2 separate regions of the Homo sapiens genome follow, and region 1 is linked to region 2. Evidence: promoter capture Hi-C in human tissues and cell types (Jung and others, 2019). All regions are on one chromosome and are shown on one strand. Each heading gives the region's core, a stretch centred on a gene start or on the middle of the fragment in contact. The rest is flanking DNA. Distances are from core to core; before and after follow the strand shown. Region 1 overlaps USP18 (ubiquitin specific peptidase 18). Region 2 holds the start of IL17RA (interleukin 17 receptor A).

Evidence for each region. Contacts are between HindIII fragments. The study calls those that stand out against the background at their distance.
Region 1: a contact is called between a fragment that was not itself captured here and the fragment with the promoter of IL17RA in region 2, in 1 of the 25 tissues and cell types used here (lymphoblastoid cells).

The regions. Positions count from the first base shown.
Region 1 is chr22:18,154,804-18,159,508 of GRCh38, reverse strand. USP18 (ubiquitin specific peptidase 18) reads right to left here. Exons shown (of 11, transcript NM_017414.4): 2 at 1,689-1,951. The coding sequence starts at 1,845. Among named protein-coding and RNA genes, the nearest start is that of USP18, 7.0 kb to the right of the region's middle. RefSeq lists an enhancer at 3,686-4,187. The HindIII fragment of the contact is 4,107 bases long and covers 321-4,427 here.
Region 2 is chr22:17,082,147-17,086,373 of GRCh38, reverse strand. It overlaps IL17RA (interleukin 17 receptor A), which reads right to left and starts at 1,374. Exons shown (of 13, transcript NM_014339.7): 1 at 1,145-1,374. The coding sequence starts at 1,282. RefSeq lists silencers at 592-841, 882-981, 1,232-1,351, 1,372-1,591 and an enhancer at 2,145-2,314. The HindIII fragment of the contact is 17,220 bases long and covers 1-4,227 here.

The DNA.
Region 1 (4,705 bases), core at 1,125-3,624, 1.1 Mb before region 2:
AAAAAAAAAGTTGACAAAAATCTAATGTTTTTCTTAAAGCTACTAAGGACATGAAGTCCTGTAAAGTCTCTCAAGTACGAAGTGTTCATTCAGCTTGCAAACAAATCGGAGAGAAGATATCAAACATGAATCTTTAAAAAGCTCTATCACAAGGGCCAAGCACAGTGGCTCACACCTGTAATCCCAGCACTTTGGGAGGCCGAGGCGGGAAGACCACCTGAGGTCAGGAGTTCAATACCAGCCTGGCCTACATGGTAAAACCTCATATTTACTAAAAATACAAAAATTAGCCGGGTGTGGTGGTGCATGCCTGTAATCCCAGCTACTCGGGAGGCTGAGGAAGGAGAACTGCTTGAACCTGGCAGGCAGATGTTGCAGTGAGCCAAGATCGTGCCACTGCACTCCAGCCTAGGCGACAAAGCAAAACTCCATCTCACACACACACACACAAAAAGTTCGATAACAAGAAAAGTTTTAATATAGTCCATTAGGAAAAGTGAGATGTCACCAAAAGTATATATTACTCACTGCCAAATGAGTAGTATGAGCAATTGTTGGGAGAGAAAAAAAAACATTAGAGAAAGCATAACTGAGAATATGGCTTCCTTTCATTCAAATCGTTCTCCACGGAGCTAAGTCCAAATGTGCATCTGTGGGGCTCAGGGATAAGAGGGACTCCCCAGTATGTCTATGTTGGAGTCCAGCGGAGAGGTCTCTGCCCAGTTCCCACTACAGGGAGGCAGGAAATAAATCAGAAGGTTACTTTGGGGAAGATTCACCTAATCCAGTGTCACCCTGAGAGGCTGAAAGGCAGAAGGAACTTATAAGAATACGAGAAAAACAAAAGATAACATTTGTCTGACCCCTAGCAACCAACCTCCTCTTTTCCAACCCAACCTTAGGCTCAGCAGACCCCACAAGGGAAGTACCACTAATCTCAGGATTCTTGGGGAAAGGGCTTTGGCTTACAAGATAGGACAGTAAGAAAGTAACAACCTGGGGTCACAGGTGAGCACAGATTTCTACTCCCAGACTATCAGGAGCACATTGCTTCCAGACAGACCCATACAAAGGTAGCAGTAAAGATGGGAACTAATGCTAAGTGCCTCTAGAATCCCAGCACTGGCTTAAAGCAGTTTCCACAGATGACCCCATTTAATCCTCCCAACAACCCTATGTGCTTGGTACTATTATTACCCCCATTTGTTTGTTTGTTTGTTTGAGACAGAGTCTCACTCTGTCACCCAGGCTGGAGTGCAGTGGCGTGATCTCAGCTCACTGCAACCTCTGCCGCCCAGGTTCAAGCAATTCTCCTGCCTCAGCCACCTAAGTAGCTGGGATTACAGGCACCTGCCACTGCGCCCAGCTAATTTTTGTATTTTTAGTAGAGACGGGGTTTCACCATTTTGGCCAGGCTGGTCTTAAACTCCCGACCTCATGATCCACTTGCCACGGCCTCCCAAACTGCTGGGATTACAGGCATGAGCCACCGCGCCCGACCTTGTTTTTGTTTTTTACAGATAGGGTTTCACTATGGCCCAGGCTGTATCCCCATCTAAAAGATGCAGAAACTCAGGCACAGGAAAGCATGAGCCGTCGAATACAAAGCTCTGCGGCTTCAGAGCGGAGGGGGTGAGCCGAACATTTACATGCAGTCAAGAAGAGGAAAACGGGAGGGGTCTAATGACCATGAGGGTAGTCCCAGGCCCTGGGACGCTCTCTGGGCTGCTCTCTCTTCATGTTGCTGTCTTCTTCCTTCTTTTCTTCAAGATCTGCCGGGGACTGCGAGGACTCAGCCAGGATGGACTGACAGATTTGCCTCAGGAGCCCAAACGCCTTGCTCATTCGTGATCACTCCAAAACCCCCAGGCCGCAGCTGCCTGGCCCGCGTTCAGGACAGCACGACTTCACTTCCAGGAAGCGCTTATGTGAGCCAGGCACGATGGAATCTCTGTGAAAATACAATGCGGGTAGGCAAGAATTAGAGAAGGAGGAATGTGTATTCATGTAATCCGTTCTGATGCCAAAGAGCAGGTCTTAGAGGGAGATAAATGTTTGGGGAGACTGACTCATAGAGCTCTAGGCTGGAAATGACAGCTAGGCTACACATCCCCTAACCTGGGTCCCAGGCGTTTCCATTCATCCTCAGAGCCGACTGCCAAATCCTAACCGGGAGCGCCCTCTTGGGAAAGGACAGGGAAGCGCGCATAGGACTTTGCTTTACAACCCAGGACCAGGCCCACTTCAGTAAAAAGCCAGCACTAAGCAAGAACTCTCAGCCCCTGATGCCAGGCTGGCATACAGGGGAAGCCTCTCAACCCGCCCAACACCCAAGGGGACCTGCGGCCCTGGCAGAACAGCCTCGTGTTCTGGCCCGCAACACTGCCGGCCAGCTGCAGCAGTCAGATAAACCTTAGCTGCAGGCAGGCTGTAGCTACCTGTCGGCCTTAGGCACATCCTGGTGCTGGGCTGGTCTCATGGCATGAATTCTGGGGGTGTGACTCAATATTGTCTCAGCCTCAGTGGCCATAGGGGTACCCGTGTACCCTCCCCCAACCCAGCACAGCTGTGTGAAGAGAGACACTGTTTGCTTGGGGGAAGAAGAGGTAAGTGGAGTACTTCGCCTTGGAACCCAGTGTGTCCGGAATTGGTGGGTGCTTGGTCTCACTGACTTCAAGAATGAAGCCGTGGACCCTCGCAGTGAGTGTTACAGTTCTTAAAGGGGGCATGTCCGCAGTTTATTCCTTCTGATGTTCGGATGTGTTCGGAGTTTCTTCCTTCTGGTGGGTTTGTGGTCTCGCTAGCTCAGGAGTGAAGCTGCAGACCTTCGCGGTGAGTGTTACAGCTCCTAATACGGCGCATCTGGAGATGTCCGTTCCTCCCGGTGGGTTCGTGGTGTCGCTGGCTTCAGGAGCGAAGCTGCGGACCTTCACGGTGAGTGTTACAGCTCTTAAGGCAGCGCGTCTGGAGTTGTTAGTCCCTCCTGGTTGGTTTGTGGTCTTGCTGGCTTCAGGAGTGAAGCTACAGACCTTCGCGGTGAGTGTTACAGTTCATAAAGGCAGTGTGGACCCAAAGAGTGAGCAGTAGCAAGACTTACTGCAAAGAATGAAACAACAAAGCTTCCACAGCATGGAAGGAAACCTGACCAGGTTGCCACTGCTGGCTCGGGCAGCCTGCTTTTATTCTCTTATCTGGCCCCACCCACATCCTGCTGATTGGTCCATTTTATAGACAGCCAATTGGTCTGTTTTACAGAGAGCTGATTGGTCCGTTTTGACAGGGTGCTGATGGGTGTGTTTACAATCCCTGAGCTAGACACAAAACGTCTCCACGTCCCCACTAGATTAGCTAGATACAGAGTGTGGACACAAAGGTTCTCCAAGTCCCCACCAGAGTAGCTAGATTCAGAGGGTCGACTGGTGCATTCACAAACCCTGAGCTAGACACAGGGTGCTGATTGGTGTGTTTACAAACCTTGAGCTAGATACAGAGTGCCGATTGGTATATTTACAATCCCTTAGCTAGACATAAAGATTCTCCAAGTCCCCACCAGACTCAGGAGCCCAGCTGGCTTCACCCAGTGGATCCCACACCTGGGCCGCAGGTGGAGCTGCCTGCCAGTCCCGCGCCGTGCGCCCGCACTCCTCAGCCCTTGGGTGGTCGGTGGGACTCGGCGGCGTGGAGCCGGGAGCGGCGCTGGTCGGGGAGGCTTGGTCCGCACAGGAGCCCATGGCTGCGGGGTGGGGAGGCTCAGGCATGGCGGGCTACAGGTCCCGAGCCCTGCCCTGCCAGGAGGCAGCTAAGGCCCGGCGAGAAATCGAGCACAGCAGCTGCTGGCCCAAGTGCTAAGCCCCTTACTGCCTGGGGCTTGCAGGCCGGCCGGCTGGCCGCTCCGAGTGCGGGCCCGCCGAGCCCACGCCCACTCGGAACTCGCGCTGGCCCACAAGCACCGCGTGCAGCCCCAGTTCCCGCCCCTGCCTCTCCCTCCACACCTCCCCGCAAGCTAAGGGAGCCCACTCCAGCCTCGGCCAGCCCAGGAAGGGGCTCCCACAGTGCAGCGGTGGGCTGAAGGGCTCCTCAAGCGTGGCCAGAGTGGGCGCCAAGGCCGAGGAGGCACCGAGAGCGAGCGAGGGCTGTGATGGCTGCCAGCACGCTGTCACCTGTCACCAGGACTAGGCTCACTACAGTAAAACCCAGTACTGGGCAGAGCCTCATCACCCTGATACTAGACCAGTACCCACAGGCAGATCTCACCCCACCCTAGTGCCAGATGAGAACCCACAGCCCCAGTAACAGGGACTGGCGATCTGGCCCACATCACTACCTGACAACTACAGTGGCCCTGGGCCCTGAATAACTTCAGCAGCAGCAAGCACGCCATCACAGCTGTGGGTCTTGGGCGTGCCCCAGTGCTGTGCCAGTCTCGGCAGCTATGGCCTTCAGGCATAACCCAGGGCTGTGTCAGCCTCAGTGGCCAAAGAATTCCAACCACAGTGATGCTGGGCTTAGAGCACCCCCCAGCACTACAACAGCTGAAGCAGTCATGGGCTTAGGGTCCTGACCAATCAGCCTCTCCCTAATCTCCTATGGGTTTCCTGATGAAAGACGAGCCCAAACAAAGCCAGGCAATGAAGACTGGCTTAGGTACCTATGTCAATGCACAGACATTGACACACAGCCATAAGGATCAAGGTCAATCAGAGAA
Region 2 (4,227 bases), core at 125-2,624:
TCTGCGACATAGTCACTCACCCTCCACCTTCTTTCGGTAAATCCTCCATAAAACTACATAAGGAGAAATATCCCTTTGTTTTACATCCTCTGACTCAGATACTGAGCATTATTCCTTGGGGTCAGCGGTGGAGGTGGAGGTGGAGGTGGAGGGGAGGAAAGATCCCCTCGGGGATGCGGGGAAGAGGAGAGTATATTGTGGAGGGGCACGGCGTTTTGCTCTTTTTTTGTTTTTTTCCTTAAGATGGTCCTGGCTCACAGAAAGGCCACTACCCGGCAGGCGGGTGGGTCACTTCCTGTGGGCGCAGCGGGGCTACGACTTGACAGCTACAAACGTTCGACCCTCCGACTGCGCTCTCACCGGGTTCCCAGACCCAGGTGGTGGTAGTCGGGGGTGGGAGTGGCGGGAAGGGCGCCGTCTTAAGAACCATCTGCCCATCCTCAGGGCTTCGCGCCTCTGGGGAGGTGGCCCTCAGCCGCCCTCGGCAGAGCTCTCCCCGAAACATGGTGCCGCGTCTCAGCGCTCCGGCCCCCGCGTGGCTCTACGACAGCGGGGTCCCTCTGGGGGCCGCGGGTGAGGGACTCCACCTTCCGCACGGACGACGTGGGCTCGCCCGGCTCCGTCGGCGGCATGAAGGGCACGGCTTGAGGGAAGCTCCCGAGGGCGCGATGGGCCTCCCGAGGGCCGACCGTGCCCCGCCGGGGTACGTGAGGGGCGCAAGGCGTGGAGCTGGGTCCAGACCCGTCCTGGCTCCTCCCCGGGCCCCTTCTCCACAGCCCCTTTCTATCAGCCCTGGCCGCCCCTCCGGCCTGGCCCAGCGCCGCGCCCTCCTTCCCCGAACTCCGCGGCCCGGGCGGAGGTGTCACTCCCGCCTCCAGTCACGACGGCGGGCCAGGTTGTGCAACACGCGCCGCGCGATGTGCCACCCACCCCCCCCGTATTCCACACCGCAACTCCCACCGCTCCGAGGGTCCTCCCCAGGCGCCGCGATATCTGTGCCCAAGGCTCTGAGCCCCTCTAAGCCCGCGGCGCGGACTTCCTGCCTCCCCAGCCCGGGCGCGTAGTCCCGACCGTCCGGCCCTCCGCGACCTTGCCCCGCGTCCGCAGCATCCTGGCGGCTACCGCTCCCCACGTCGAGTCTCACCGGCTGGGAGCAGACCAGCGCCCGGTGGTCCAGGAGTCGCAGGGAGGCGCCACCCGGGGCCAGCACGCCCAGGAGCAGCAGGAGCAGCCCCAGCAGGGGCCCCGGGACAGCGGACGGCGGGCTGCGTGCGGCCCCCATGGCCCGGCTGGCGTCGCGGAGGGCTCGGCCCCGGCTGGGGACGCAGCGAACGAACGTTCTGAGGCTTTCTTTTCCGCGGTGGAGTTCGAGTCGGCTCCACTTTGCTCGCTTCCGGCTTCCAGCCCGGGCCCAGGGGCGGGCCGGGCCGAGGGGAGGAGTTTAGTCTGGGACGGGGAGGGGTTTAGGGTGAGACAGGGCCCTCCCCCCGTTCCTCCTTGCGCCCCTCCTCTCGGCCCTACGCTCAGTCCTCCGGGCGTCCCTACCCAGTCCTTCCGGCGTCCCTCCCCGGCCCTCCTCCGCCCGCGCGCCCCAGGTGCGCTCCTCCCGCTGCTCCTGGGCCTGGCCCGTCGCGCCTCCAGTTGCACCCGCGTCGGGCTAGCGTCAACTCCAGCTGGAGCCTCGCCTGCCCCACATGCACCCTCCACCCTGGCCGTGCCGCAGCAACTGTCGATTTTAATCCTCCGCCCCCACTCACTTGATTCTTGGCCCTGTTCAGACTTCTTGCTTCTCTTGTGGGTCACTGGACGTGAAATCCCAACTTGGGATTTCAGGAAGTCCGTTTTCTTAGTCTCTGTCCCTTTTATTTTTGTTTTTTATTTTACTTTATTTTTAGACAGGGTCTCCCTCTGTCTCCCAGGCTGGAGTGCAGTGGTGCAACCGCAGCTCACTGCAGCTTCGGCCTCCCGGGCTCAAGCGATCCTCCTGCCTCTGCCTCCTGAGTAGATGGAAGCGCGGGCCATATCCCATTTTATTGTCCCCACCCCTTTGCCTGGTTCTGCTCGCTCTGCTTTCCTTGGCTTTGCTTTCTCTTTCTCAAGACAAGGACAGCTCCGGGCTCCAGGGAGGATGGGACAGCAGTCACTTCCAGCCTCCTGGCTCGGACTCGGGGACACTTGAGTTCCTGGAGGGCAGGCAACTTACCTGGTCTGTGAGACTGTGTCCCAGCCGCACCTAAGAGAGTCGTTACTTCCCAGAGGCTCACTCCACGGCCGCGGAAGCTGTCGCCAGCGAATTACACATTTCATGAGTCTCCTTCTTAGCACGCGTGCAGCCTGCGTCCTCTCCTCTCCGGACCCTGGAGGACCCTCCCAAGCCGGCCCGCGCTGCCTCTATCCTAGGTTCCTGCTTCGAGCCCGTCCTGCCCTAGTGCATCCACACGCTCCTGCCCATTCGCCTCTCCTCTCTTCCTCCCAAGACCACCACCGTCCGCTTTTCCTTGCCTATCAAGTGCGCCTCTGCCTGGCCTTGACACGCACGGAGTCTACACTCAAGTGGCTTTTCCCTGTATTTTCCACTGCCCTCGAGAGGTGGGTTTTTTCGCTGCCCGAAGCACCCGCTGACCCCCAGCGACATCTCTATGAGCCCCGCCCGCAGACACGACCCAGCTGAATGAAGCCTGAAGCTCAGTGGCCTTCAAATTGTCTGTTTCTAAAAGAATTTTGGAAAACTGCATCCTCTCATGCATTTTAAAGATGACATCTAAAATTCTCCATCCTAAGTCTAAATAGATGTAGAGGATGTAACTGTTACTTAAAAATCAGCGGTTGTCGTAGGCAGCTTCTAAGATGTGTTCTAGGATCCCACCCCCTGGGAGTCACGACCTTCTGAATCCTCCTCGCGGAGTGTGGGATGGACCCAGAGGCTTGGTTCTAACAATAGAATATGAATAGAAGAAGACAAAAATGATGGGATGTCACTTACAAGATTAAGTTACAAAAAGATCCTGACTTCTGTCTTGCCCAGCCCCTCCCTCTGAGCTCCTAGCTCTTAGGGAAGCCATGCTGGGGCCCAAGTGGCAGAGAATGAGAAAGGCCTCTGCCCAGTGCAAGACACTGAGATCTTCATTTCATCATTGCCATTATTAGTACATAATTGATAAAAAATAATGTAAATATAATACATGTTAATAAGTAATTAAACATGAATTACTTGAAATTCATTTTATTCCTAATTAGTTGATGTATCTGTGAACAAATATTGCTTATTCATAGAACAAAGCAACATTCAGCATTTAAGAAATATTTTATTTTTCTTCTTTTTTTTTTTTTCTTTTTGAGATGGAGTCTTGCTCTGTCATCCAGGCCGGAGTGCAGTGGCGTGATCTCGGCTCACTGCAAGCTCCGCCTCCCGGGTTCAGTCCATTCTCCTGCCTCAGCCTCCCGAGTAGCTGGGACTACAGGCACCTGCCACCACGCCCGGCTAATTTTTTGTATTTTTAGTAGAGACGGGGTTTCACCGTGTTAGCCAGGATGGTCTTGATCTCCTGACCTCATGATCCGCCCGCCTCGGCCTCCCAAAGTGCTAGGATTACAGGCGTGAGCCACCATTTTTCTTCTTTTTAAAACATTGAGACAGGGTCTCACTATGTTACCCAGGCTGGTCTTGAATTCCTGGGCTCAAGTCATCCTCCTGCCTCAGCTTCCCAAAGTACTAGGATTACAGGCACGAGCTACCACCCCAGGCTAAAAATATTTTAGATGTAAGCCTTAAAAAATTGCTTACATAAATAATTATATTTGTCTCATCAATTCTTTGAACCCGTTTTCAGTCATATGCAAAGATCACATAGCCATCTTGTCACCTTTTTTTTTTTTTAAATAGGGTCTCACTAAACGGCCCAGGCTAGACTCAAACTCCAGGGCTCAAGAGGTCCTCTCATCTCAGCCTCCCAAGTAGCTGGGATTACAGGTTTGCACCACTGTGCCCAGTCAAATATTTTTGATTTGGCAACTGACAACTTGATTGGGTCCTCCTTCAATTTTAGTAAGGCAATATTTGGAACCTACCTCACTTGCAAAAAAATAGATGTCTATCTATCTATCTATCTATCTATCTCTGTATATCGATATGTGTATATACCTATCCTGTGATCAGAGTCCTATTACACAATGGTATCTGGTACTGTTGCTATGTCTAGTGCCCAGGGGCTTTTTAAATTTTATTTT